Regions from separate parts of the Homo sapiens genome. Here all the other regions are linked to region 2. Evidence: promoter capture Hi-C in 16 types of primary human blood cells and fetal thymus (Javierre and others, 2016). All regions are on one chromosome and are shown on one strand. The core of a region is centred on a gene start or on the middle of the fragment in contact, and the rest is flanking DNA. Distances in the headings are between cores, read along the strand shown.

Region 1 (3,499 bases), core at 545-3,044, 670 kb after region 2:
TAATGTCTGGGGTGGGGGGCTGTTTGGTTTGGCCTGAGCCCTCAGGGGCGCCTCACACTTTCCGCCCCTGGCTGGGGCGCAGGGCAGCGGCCCCGAGGCTGAGTCACGGCCCGGCGCGGAGAGGGAGAGAGGGAGAAAGAGGGAGGGAGGGACCTGGACTCCGCCCCTCGTGCGCGGGGATCCCGGGTCAGCCCGGGTGAGGGCCAGGGCCCCCCTGGCGCCGCCCATTGTGGTCCAACAGGTTGAGCTGGTGTCCCGAGAAGCCACCTGCTGGAAAGGGAGGGAGGCCCCCTGCGGAGGGGGGTTGGGAGGGGAAAGCGAGTCCGACCCGGTTCGGCCTGGCTTGTCGCAGGGGAGCCAAACCTGGCCCTAGGTAGCCGGATTTGATTCCATTTGACACTAGTGGGAGGGGCCCTTTGGGGTACGCAGCTCCGCAGGCTCAGTCAGAAACATCCTTCACCCGCTACCTTTCTCAGTTGGGGGACTCCTAAGTATTTATCCCGGTCCTCCCCAAAACCTACACATACCACACATCCCAAAACATCCAGGCACCCCTCGCCACCTGGGTCTCTCAGCGAATTCATGTCAAGCTATCCCTCCTCGGTGGAGACTCAGTTTCTCCACTTAGGGAACCCGCGGGATGGAGGTGGGGAGCAAAAGCGTCGGCGCGCCCCCTCCCCCTTCGCAGACTGGGCCCCTCCCCTCCGACAATGCCAAGGCCGCAGCGGGCACTGGCGACAGCACAGAGGCTGCTTGCCTGGGGCGCCCTTCCCTCCCCGCGGGGCACCGTCACGCGTGGGGAGGGACGCAGGGCGCCCGCAGGCTCAACTCCCCGGCTCCCTCCGAGAGGGGGTGGGGCGTAGGGGCCGGAGCCGAAGGCCTGGTGGCTCCCCCTCCCCCTCCCTTCTAGGTCCCTGACCTGATTACAGCCCCTCACGGGACCCCCTCCCTCAAGACCCTAAGTCCCCAATTCACCCCCACCCAGCCTATCCCTAACCTCTCATACCCTTCCCTCCTGAGGTCCTGACCCTACAGAAGCCCCTCTTGAAGGAGAGGGAGCCCCTGTAGGGGGTGCTCGATTCCCTGGCCGCTGCGGACACTGCCCCCTCCCCCCTCCTCTCCAGGTTCCAGGCCAGCCCCTCGGCTCCGCCCCCTCCCTGGACGAACGCAAGGCGAGACCTACTGGAGATGAGCGGGTATTCAGGCCAATGAGCGGACAGGGCGGTGGCGTGCAGGGGGCGGGCAGAGCAGCAGCAAAGGGCTGGATGGGGGCCGGGGGCGGAGTTTGAGTTAAGGTGGACTGGGAGAGATAGGGGCAGGAGAAAGGGGGGGGAGAGAGGGACCGCGGCAGGTGAAGGGAGACAGAGAGAAGGAAAGAAGGAGGGAAAGGAGGAGGGTGGGAAAGGCTAGGAGAGCTAAGTAAGAGTTTGGAGAAGGGGGCAAAAAAGGAGGGAGGGACCCATCTGCGCTCTGCAGGGACTGGCTGGACGAAGGGGTTGAAGTTTATGTCCTTATTGGGCGGAGGGAGGGGGCCTGGGGGGGCGGGTGAAAAACCAGGAAGTGACAGAGGGTGTTTCTAAGTGTTGGGGGGGGGGAGTTTGGGGGGTGGCAGGGGCGGGGGGAGGGAGGGGAGGGATGGGGGGAAAGCAAGCTGGAGGACAGGTGAGACAGCAGGACAGGTGAGGCGGGCCCTGAGGGGGGGGCGGGTGGGAGCCAGGTGAATGTACGGCTCTTGGCGGCCGAGGGGGGGCGGGCGGCAGGAGGAGGCAGAGGGCGGCGGAGGAGGAGCCCCCCAGCAGCGAGCGGCGAGCAACTGACCGCGGCCTTCTGACCAGGACCGGAGCAGGGCCCCAAGCCCCCGGGCCTGGTGGGGGACGCGCTTCTTCCCACACTGTGAGCCTCAGCAGCTCCAGCCAGCGGACCCGACGGCTGAGAGGTGAGTGTACCCCACTTTTGTCTCCTGGCTCGGGGTTCACTAGGCTCGAGACTACTGCAGTGTCCTTCGTCCGTCCTGTAAGTGGGACCCCCAGATACACACGCATGCAGATCACATTCCCACCACTCCCCTTCCCTGTGCTTTCCCAACACCCCGGGTCTCTGGAATTGGTTTTAACTGAGATGAAAGACAGAGAAGGAACTGCGGATGCCCCCCAACCCTAGGCGGAGGGTCCCCAGAAAGTTTATCTGCACTTCTCCTGGGATCAGACAGACAGACGGCTTCGGGATGGAGAGGGGGTGAGGCGACGCTGAGCGTTCCCCCAGTCTCCTTCGTGACTTTAGGGGGAGACCCCAGACCGGACTGAGTTGAGGGAATGGAAACGCTGACGGACTCTAACTAGGACAACGCGCACCCCCCCCCCACCCCGCGCCCCCTGGCGCGGTGGATTGGCCCCAGGCCAGTTGCATGGGGGTTGGGGGGGCGCAGGAGGAGCCGCGGCTTGGGGGAAAGTTACCGGCTGGACTATTCGGTTTCTTGCGCTTCCAGAGCCGCGCTCTCTCCAGCGGTAGTGGGGCTCAGCAACAACCTCTGAACCGACATAGAACGACCGCTCTCTTCCCTGCCCCTCAATCCCACTCCCTTCCTTCAGGCTCCAGTCCCGCCGCTACCTTTTCCACGCCAGCTCATGACCACAGAACCCAAGAGCGAGGGCGGGTGACTAGGAAGAATTCTCCTACCTACTACCCGTCCCCCCACCGGCGCCGGCGCACCTGCCCCAGCCCAGAGTGGGGGTCGCTACTGTGTTGTTGTAGAACCTACAGAGTGCGCCTGGCAGAAGGCTGCCATTCAAAGGGGTGGGGGGCGCTGCTTTCAATTTCCAGCTTTCTCTCCCTCCTCCCACCCCATCCCAAGTAAGAGAGCGACGTGTCCCGGCCAGAGCGAGGTGGGGGCGGGAGTGGGGGGGCGGCGTGGGCAGCGGGTTGTGCCCGGACACGTGCCTGCCCAGGCGCCCCGGCCCTGCTGGTGTTTAGAGAGAGGGCGGGTCCCCTGCCCCCCGCCCCGCACAACCCCCACGTATCAAAGGGCGGCTGAGACATGGTGAGACCTCGGGGCGCCCTGGGGGGCAGGGGGGCGGGGAGCCTGGGTCCGGAGCAGGGGAGGGGCAGAGGCGCCGGTGCTAGCTGACCCACAGGAAACGAGCGCTGCTGACCTAGTTTGGGACACCGGAAGTGGGTGCTGGGGAGAGGGGGAGACCGGCAGGCTGTCCAGGCTTCCGGGCCAGGTGGAGGGTGTTCTTGAATTGACCCCCGCCCGAATGCCTTGGAGACCCCTAGCTGCAGCCGAGAATGGGAATGAGTCAGCGCAGCTATTCCCCCTTCCCCCAACTTATTCCTGGAGGAGGGAGACCGCTTATCAGGGACGGGGGAACCAGATTGGGCTGTGAGGGGTTAAAGCAGGATGGGAACTGTCTGGTCCCTAAGGGAGTATGTGTGAGTGTGGGGATGAGGCCTGGAGGATTATGGGGTTGCCTCCTGCTGCCCCACACACACCAACTGGTTT
Region 2 (3,763 bases), core at 26-2,525:
TCACCAGTTCTGAGCTTTTTCCACTAGAGCAGTGGTGTCCAATATTTTGGCATCCCTGGGCCACATTGGAAGAAGAATTGTCTTGGGCCACACATAAAATACACTAACATTAACAATAGCTGATAAGCTTAGAAAAAAAAAATTGCAAAAAAAAATCTCATAAATTTTTTTTTTTTTTTTTTGAGACGGAGTCTCACTCTGTCACTAGGCTGGAGTGTAGTGCAATGGCATTATCTCGGCTCACTGCAACCTCTGCCTCTCGGGTTCACGTGATTCTCCTGCCTCAGCCTCCCTAGTAGCTGGGATTACAGGTGCCCGCCACCACACCCGGCTAATTTTTTTGTATTTTTAGTAGAGATGAGAGATGGGGTTTCACCATGTTGGCCAGACTGGTCTCGAACTCCTGACCTCATGATCTGCCCGCCTTGGCCTCCCAAAGTGCTGGGATTATAGGTGTGAGTCACTGCACCTGGCCTTTTTTTTTTTTTTTTTTGAGACAGGTTCTTGCTCTGTTGCCCAGGCTGGGATGCAGTGGCATGATCTTGGCTCACTGCAATGTCTGCCTCCCGGGTTCAAGCAATTCTCATGCCTTGGACTCCTGAGTAGCTGAGACTACAGGCAAGTGCCACCAGGACTGGCTAATTTTTTTAATGTTTTTAGTAGAGACGGGGTTTCACCGTGTTGGCCAGGCTGGTCTCAAACTCCTGACCTCAGGTGATCCATCCGCCTCAACCTCCCAAAATGCTGGGATTACAGGCTTGAGCCACTGCGCCCAGCCCATAATAGTTTTTTTTTTTTTTATAATTATTTTTCATTTAACATTCAGCTGTTACCAAAATCTCATAGTGTTTTAAGAAAGTTTATGAATCTGTGTTGGGCCACATGTGGCCCAGAGACCATGGGTTGGACAAGCTTGCACTAGAGCATCTGAGCTTTTGAGGGCTCAAGGGATGAATACATCACAGATGCACTTGGTTTTGAGGGCTTCCTACATGTCAGCCTCGCCTGTGCTTCTCATTCCTCCCCAGATTTTTGGATTCCTGGTTTGCATGGGGGTGATCCTGGCCATTGGCAATGCCATCTGGGAGCACGAGGTGGGGATGCGTTTCCAGGTCTACCTGCCGTGGGATGAGGCAGTGGACAGTGCCTTCTTCTCTGGCTTCCTCTCCTTCTGGTCCTACATCATCATCCTCAACACCGTTGTGCCCATTTCACTCTATGTCAGGTATGTGCCTTCTCTGACCTGGGGTCTCTCCAGGGAGTCAGGCGGTCCCATAGAACTTTTCTTTTCTATGAAGATGAAGTCCTTGAGAAGTAACGAGAAGTCCTCTTCTTCCTGTACTGTAAACATTTGATGTTATCTGTTTATCTTTGTGGGCAGAGCAAACTTTTTACCACAGTTTCCTGGTACTTGGGACTGTATTAGAGAAAAAAAAATATTGATTTATTCAGCACCTATTTATTACATGCCTACTGTGTACAAAGAAGTGTGCTAGGTGCCATCACAAATAAAAGATGAATTAGGAATGGATCTCCTTCCTTCTAGGAGCTTACGTCTAGTAAAGGAAGGAAAATCTAAACACATTATAAAACAAAATAGGAACCAGTGCTGTAGAATTCGACCTAGAGTCTTCTATGTGAAGCTTGGGGATACAGAGATGTATAAGGTGGCCTCTGCCTTTAGCAGCAGCAGATGGATAGGTCGAGGAGGGGAGATCTGGACAGTGTCAGACTGAGATACCATGTGGGAGGCACAGGGTGCCCGGGGACTGGGAGAGTGTCGCTCCCTAAGCAGGTAGGCAGAGAGGGAGAGATGGCATTTGCTCTGGGCTTTGAGTGGTGACTGGGCTGGATGAAGGTGGAGCCACAATGGAGAGGAGGCTGAGAGGGCTGGAAGCAAAGGTGTGGAGATGGGAGCCTGGGAATGGCCTATGGAAATAGTTGGCCAGGGTCTTGGGCCAAGAGCAAGAGCTGGAAACATAGCTTGCTCCTGATTGTGGAGGCTTTTGAATATTTGCCTGTGGACTTTGTATTTACTAACCATTAAAAGTTATTGAAAAGACTGGGCACGGTGGCTCACACCTGTAATCCCAGCACTTTGGGAAGCCAAGGTGGGCGGATAACGAGGTCAGGAATTCGAGACCAGCCTGGCCAACATGTTGAAACCCCGTCTCTACTAAAAATACAAAAATTAGCCAGGTGTGGTGGTGGTTGCCTGTAATCCCAGCTACTTGGGAGGCTAAGGTAGGAGAATCGCTTGAAACCGGAAGGTGGAGGTAGCAGTGAGCCAAGATCACGCCACTGCACTCTAGCCTGGGCAACGAGCGAAACTGTGTCTCAAAAAACAACGAAACAAACAAACAAACAAAAAAGTTTTTGAAGAAAGTCAAAAGAATGTATTCTGTATTCTAAAAATGCATTCTAAGTGTTACAGCTCTTTTAGAATTTGTCTAGCAGGTTTTCCAGTTTTCACTGGAACCCCTCCCCCACAAAAAGAAAAAAATGCATTCTAAAAAAAAACTAAAGAATGCTTTAGGAAGTATTGACTGGCAGTAGTGTACAGCATGAATAGGATCAAGGCAACATGTAGGATGTTTGAGGTAAAGAGAATGTTAGCAGGGACAGGCCAGTGAGAATGAAGGGGAGGATCGGAGGAAGACGAGGCAGGAGGAATGGCCAGGGGAAAGGAACTTTCTTGCTTAGTGCCTTGCACTTGAGATAAGGGAACCTGTGACATTTTTAAGGAAATGTTTTATGGAGGTGCTGAAAACTTGTCCTGTCTCCCATCTTTTGTTCATACAGATTCCCCAAATAGCCCTCAACTCTCTCCCAGCCCCCAATCTTACTGCTGGTGATAATAAATAGAAGATACAGCATTTCTGTGCTGAGAGAATATAGTTTAGGCTTTTCCAGGGTGTGAAGAGGAGAGTTGGGAGGTTCTGGGTTTAGTCCTGCCTCCTCACTGGCCATGTGACCTCAGGAAAATCCACGGTCACTCAGGGCCTCACTTGATCTTAGTTTTCCCACGTGAAACAGGAACAGGAGTACTTGTCTCACCTTTTAATAGGATGTCTTGATATAAGATATTGGCTTAGAAGATACATTTTAAACTTAAGTGACTGTACAGTTACTGGGTGGTAGCCTGCTCATTGTGACTGTTGCCACTCCCTTCTGCATTACTATTTAAATGCCTTTGTGCTTACAACCTAATTTTGTTTTCCCACCTATGGGCTTTGCTATCTGTGTTTTGTATCTCAGTTCACTTGAAGCCCTTGGGAGCAGCTAAAGCAGTTTTCTTTCTGAGTCTCATCAGGTCACAGTGTGTATGTTTCGGGAGGCTAAGAGGGGGTTGAAGAGCTGTGTGAGGAAAAGGCCCTTTGGAATGTGAAGACATTCCCATTTGCCTGGTAATGGGATCCTGATAGGTGCCTTAGTCAGGTGGGAAGCAGGGCTCTCGATAGGGCCCCATTGCTCGGCTGCACTGGACCTAAACATGGCCCTTTCTGGAAATGCTAACAGTGCATATGATTAGCAAAGAAGAGGATACGAACAGACCTGGAGATGTTAAAGGCACTATAGGGGCCAGGCATGGTGGCTGTCGCCTGTAATCCCAGCACTTTGGGCGGTGGAGGCGGGAGGATCTCTTGAGTTCAGGAATTCAAGACCAGTGTGGGCAACACAGCGAGATCCCATCTCTACAAAAAATGAAAATTAGCCAGGTGTGGTGGTGTGCACCTGTAGTCCCAGCTACTAGGGAGGCTGA
Region 3 (3,494 bases), core at 142-2,641, 980 kb before region 2:
TCCTGATAGAGAGAGGGGGCAGCAAGCAAGAGGGAGTCCCAGGGTGGATCATCCATACTGGCTTCCAGGGGTGACGGGAAAGGATGCCAGCAAGGACTTCAGCAAGGATCAATCAGCAAATCCGAGGGTGTCTCTCTTGCCAAGCCCCGGGCTGTGTGCATAGGAGAAGGAGAACATGAATGAGAACCTACCTTTGAGGATCTACAGCCAATTGTTGGACAGAGGCAAAATATGTATATAATTTTACTCCAGGAAAGCAAGTGTTGAGAGCCAGAAGTGGTATGAGAATCATAGTCAGGAAGACAGAAACTGTTTCCAAATGGGAAGCACAGAGCAGTCTCCTTGGAAGAGAGTGCATTAGAACTGAGCCGTGGGGGCGGGCAGGATATCACTGTGGAGTAGGGGAAGGGCACTCCTGGGGTGGCAAGGTGGGAGGTGGGCCCTGTGTTCCCACAGTGGGCAGGGAGGTAGTGAAAGGGAAGCTGGCCGGACAGGCAGGGCCATTCCAAGAGGGCTTTGTGCGCAGGGCTAAGCCAAGCTTTCTCCATAGGCAATGGGGAGCAACTGGAGGTTCGTAGCAGGAGAAGGACACATCTTGCCCACCAGGAGGCTAAGTAAAAACAGTTGTCTCCCAAGTTATAAGTTCCTGGAACCCTTGCTGGGAGCAGGATTTAGAAAAATGATGCTGAGAGATGCTAGAAACATATTCGCCCTGAGGCTCTCTCACTCAGACTGCAAGAGGAAGGTATCATCAGAATTGCCCTTAACCAGGAACCAGAATAGCTGGGTCCCCTTCCTGCCAAGTCAGCAACCAGCTATGTGACCTTGCTCAGGTCCATCTCCGGGTGTCAGTTTCTTCATCTACAATGCAAGAGGGTTGCCCACCTCTGAGAACCCTTCTAACCCCAAATCTCACCCTATGAATCTAAGAACACCAACCCCTCGCCATCCTAAGTATCACAGAGCCAGGCAAGCATGGGTGAGAGCTCAGACCATCCTTGTTGGACTAAAAGGAAGGGGCAGACTGCCCATGGGGGGCAGCCGAGAGGGTCAGGCCCCCATAGGTCCTCAGCCTGCTTCAACCTCAAAGGGGATGGGGGGCTGAGTGGTGCCAGAGGAGCAGCAGGCTCGCTCGGGGAGAGTAGGGCCTTAGGATAGAAGGGAAATGAACTAAACAACCAGCTTCCTCCCAAACCAGTTTCAGGCCAGGGCTGGGAATTTCACAAAAAAGCAGAAGGCGCTCTGTGAACATTTCCTGCCCCGCCCCAGCCCCCTTCCTGGCAGCATTACCACACTGCTCACCTGTGAAGCAATCTTCCGGAGACAGGGCCAAAGGGCCAAGTGCCCCAGTCAGGAGCTGCCTATAAATGCCGAGCCTGCACAGCTCTGGCAAACACTCTGTGTGGCTCCTCGGCTTTGGTAAGTGAGCTGCCAGCTTCCCCAGGCAGAAGCCTGCCTGCCGATTCCTTCTTTCCTTCCCTGACCCAACTTCCTTCCAAATCCTCCTCCTAGAAGCCCTCCTTGGTTGGCCCTGCCTACTTTAAAGCTTCTTTCACATTTTCTTAGGTCATGTTCCCCTGGGGCCTCCTGCCCTCAAATGCTTTGCTTTTTGGCACTCTGTAGATATTCTAAAAAATCATTTTGTACATGTGTGTGACAGGCCATCTCCCAGTTAAGTTGCAGCCTGTGCTTTCTTTTTATTTTGCACTTCCCCCACTATTTCTGTGAGTGCTTAGTAGGAAGTGTCAAAGAAGCTTGACAGCATTTTCTTCTAAGTGTCCCAACTCTTGGTTTTCCATTACACAGACAGAGTGCAAGACGATGACTTGCAAAATGTCGCAGCTGGAACGCAACATAGAGACCATCATCAACACCTTCCACCAATACTCTGTGAAGCTGGGGCACCCAGACACCCTGAACCAGGGGGAATTCAAAGAGCTGGTGCGAAAAGATCTGCAAAATTTTCTCAAGGTAGGGCTGGACTCTGGCAGGTCTGACCCAGCCTCACCGCAGTTTGGGTTGACAAGGGAGGATGGGAGTATGGGCTACAGCAATCAAGGGGAAGATTTGAGCTCCTGGAGCCCAGCCCCAAGACGCAGCGAGTGTCCTGTTATACAGGGCAGGTGCTCACAGTTACACAGGACGACAGGGTCAAGAAATTGCTCAATTGAACACCTGCTATTTGTCGGGCCCTGTTCTGGGCAGAGGGATGTAGTGGTAAATGGGGAGCCCACTATTCCAGTGGAGGGAGACACACAGTAAAGTTGTTGGCCAATAAAGAGCACAGATAAAGCCAAATGCCAATAAGTGCCTGGAAGAAAATGAGATAGAGTGCGCTGTGGGCAATGGGGCTGGGTGGGGTGGAGGTGACCAGTTAGGGTACATGAGAAGGGCCTCTTTGAGGAGGTAACATTTGAGCTGAGCCCCGAATGTTGGGGAGGGAAGCCCCTGAGGATGACACTTGGCACAAAGCTGAGGAGACCCTAAGCCTCAGGCGGGAACTTGGGGTGGAAGACTTGGGGGCTTTTCTAATCCTAAGGGTCTGCGGTGGAAAATGAATGCATAAAGAGCACATGGAGAGCACCTGCACAGCACTCAGGGAACTGGGAGGTTTTTCCCCCGCTCCAAAAATGATTAGGCAGTTCTAAGAAAAAGGCTGAGCACTTCCAACAGCCTTTTTGTTTTCTTTTCAAATTTGGGGAAAGTCGGGAAACAGAGGCCTGCATTAAGAAGGGTGGAACACATGGGTCTCAGTCTCAGTTCCAGTCCCGGAGCCAGACATCCTGGGGTAGGTCCCCAGCCCTCCCAGTGCCCCTCCCTCCGCCTTGGTAAGGTGGAGAATTGCAGCCTTCAGAGTTAGGGGCCCTGACAGCTCTCCATAGGTGGAGGCCTCAGGCAGGCAGGATGCTGGGTGGGGTAGGCAAGAAAGGGCCCAGCAGAGAGGCCGCATGGCAAAACTATCCTCCATGTGACCCCCTATGCCCGCTTCACCCCCCACCTGACATCCCCCACCAGAAGCAAAGCGATGCTGTGGGAAAGGAAGCAGAGCCTCATGGATGGGCTGCACAGGAGAGTGCTCGCATTGGCTGGGTACCCCACAGGTTCTGGGAGGGGACTTAGCGAGGTGACTCAGCCAGAGGGTGGCAGAGCTGGAACCAACCAGTGCTCTCTTGGACCCCGCCTGGGTCTGGGTCTTCCACCTCCCCTGATGTCTCTCCTTTTTTTTTTTTTTTTTTTTTTTTTGAGACAGAGTTTCGCTCTTATTGCCCAGGCTGGAGTGCAACGGCACAATCTCGGCTCACCACAACCTCCACCTCCTGGGTTCAAGCGATTCTCCTGCTTCAGCCTCCAGAATAGCTGGGATTACAGGCATGCACCACCATGCCTGGCTAATTTTGTTATTTTTTGTAGAGACAAGGTTTCTCCATGTTGGTCAGGCTGGTCTCGAACTCTTGACCTTAGGTGATCTGCCTGCCTCGGCCTCCCAAAGTGCT

Evidence for each region. Contacts are between HindIII fragments. The CHiCAGO score rates a contact against its expected background, and 5 or more counts as called.
Region 1: a contact is called between the fragment with the promoter of ZBTB7B here and a fragment that was not itself captured in region 2, in 1 of 17 cell types (non-activated CD4 T cells). The highest score is 5.0, in non-activated CD4 T cells.
Region 3: a contact is called between the fragment with the promoter of S100A9 here and a fragment that was not itself captured in region 2, in 1 of 17 cell types (total B cells). The highest score is 5.4, in total B cells.

The regions. Positions count from the first base shown.
Region 1 is chr1:155,001,008-155,004,506 of GRCh38, forward strand. It overlaps ZBTB7B (zinc finger and BTB domain containing 7B), which reads left to right and starts at 1,795. Exons shown (of 3, transcript NM_001256455.2): 1 at 1,795-1,936. RefSeq lists silencers at 74-293, 694-933, 1,044-1,233, 2,944-3,063. The HindIII fragment of the contact is 14,435 bases long and covers 1-3,499 here.
Region 2 is chr1:154,336,320-154,340,082 of GRCh38, forward strand. It overlaps ATP8B2 (ATPase phospholipid transporting 8B2), which reads left to right. Exons shown (of 28, transcript NM_001370597.1): 12 at 1,029-1,225. It also overlaps the pseudogene RNU7-57P. Among named protein-coding and RNA genes, the nearest start is that of ATP8B2, 13 kb to the left of the region's middle. The HindIII fragment of the contact is 731 bases long and covers 911-1,641 here.
Region 3 is chr1:153,356,463-153,359,956 of GRCh38, forward strand. It overlaps S100A9 (S100 calcium binding protein A9), which reads left to right and starts at 1,392. Exons shown (of 3, transcript NM_002965.4): 1 at 1,392-1,419; 2 at 1,807-1,971. The coding sequence starts at 1,822. The HindIII fragment of the contact is 1,008 bases long and covers 537-1,544 here.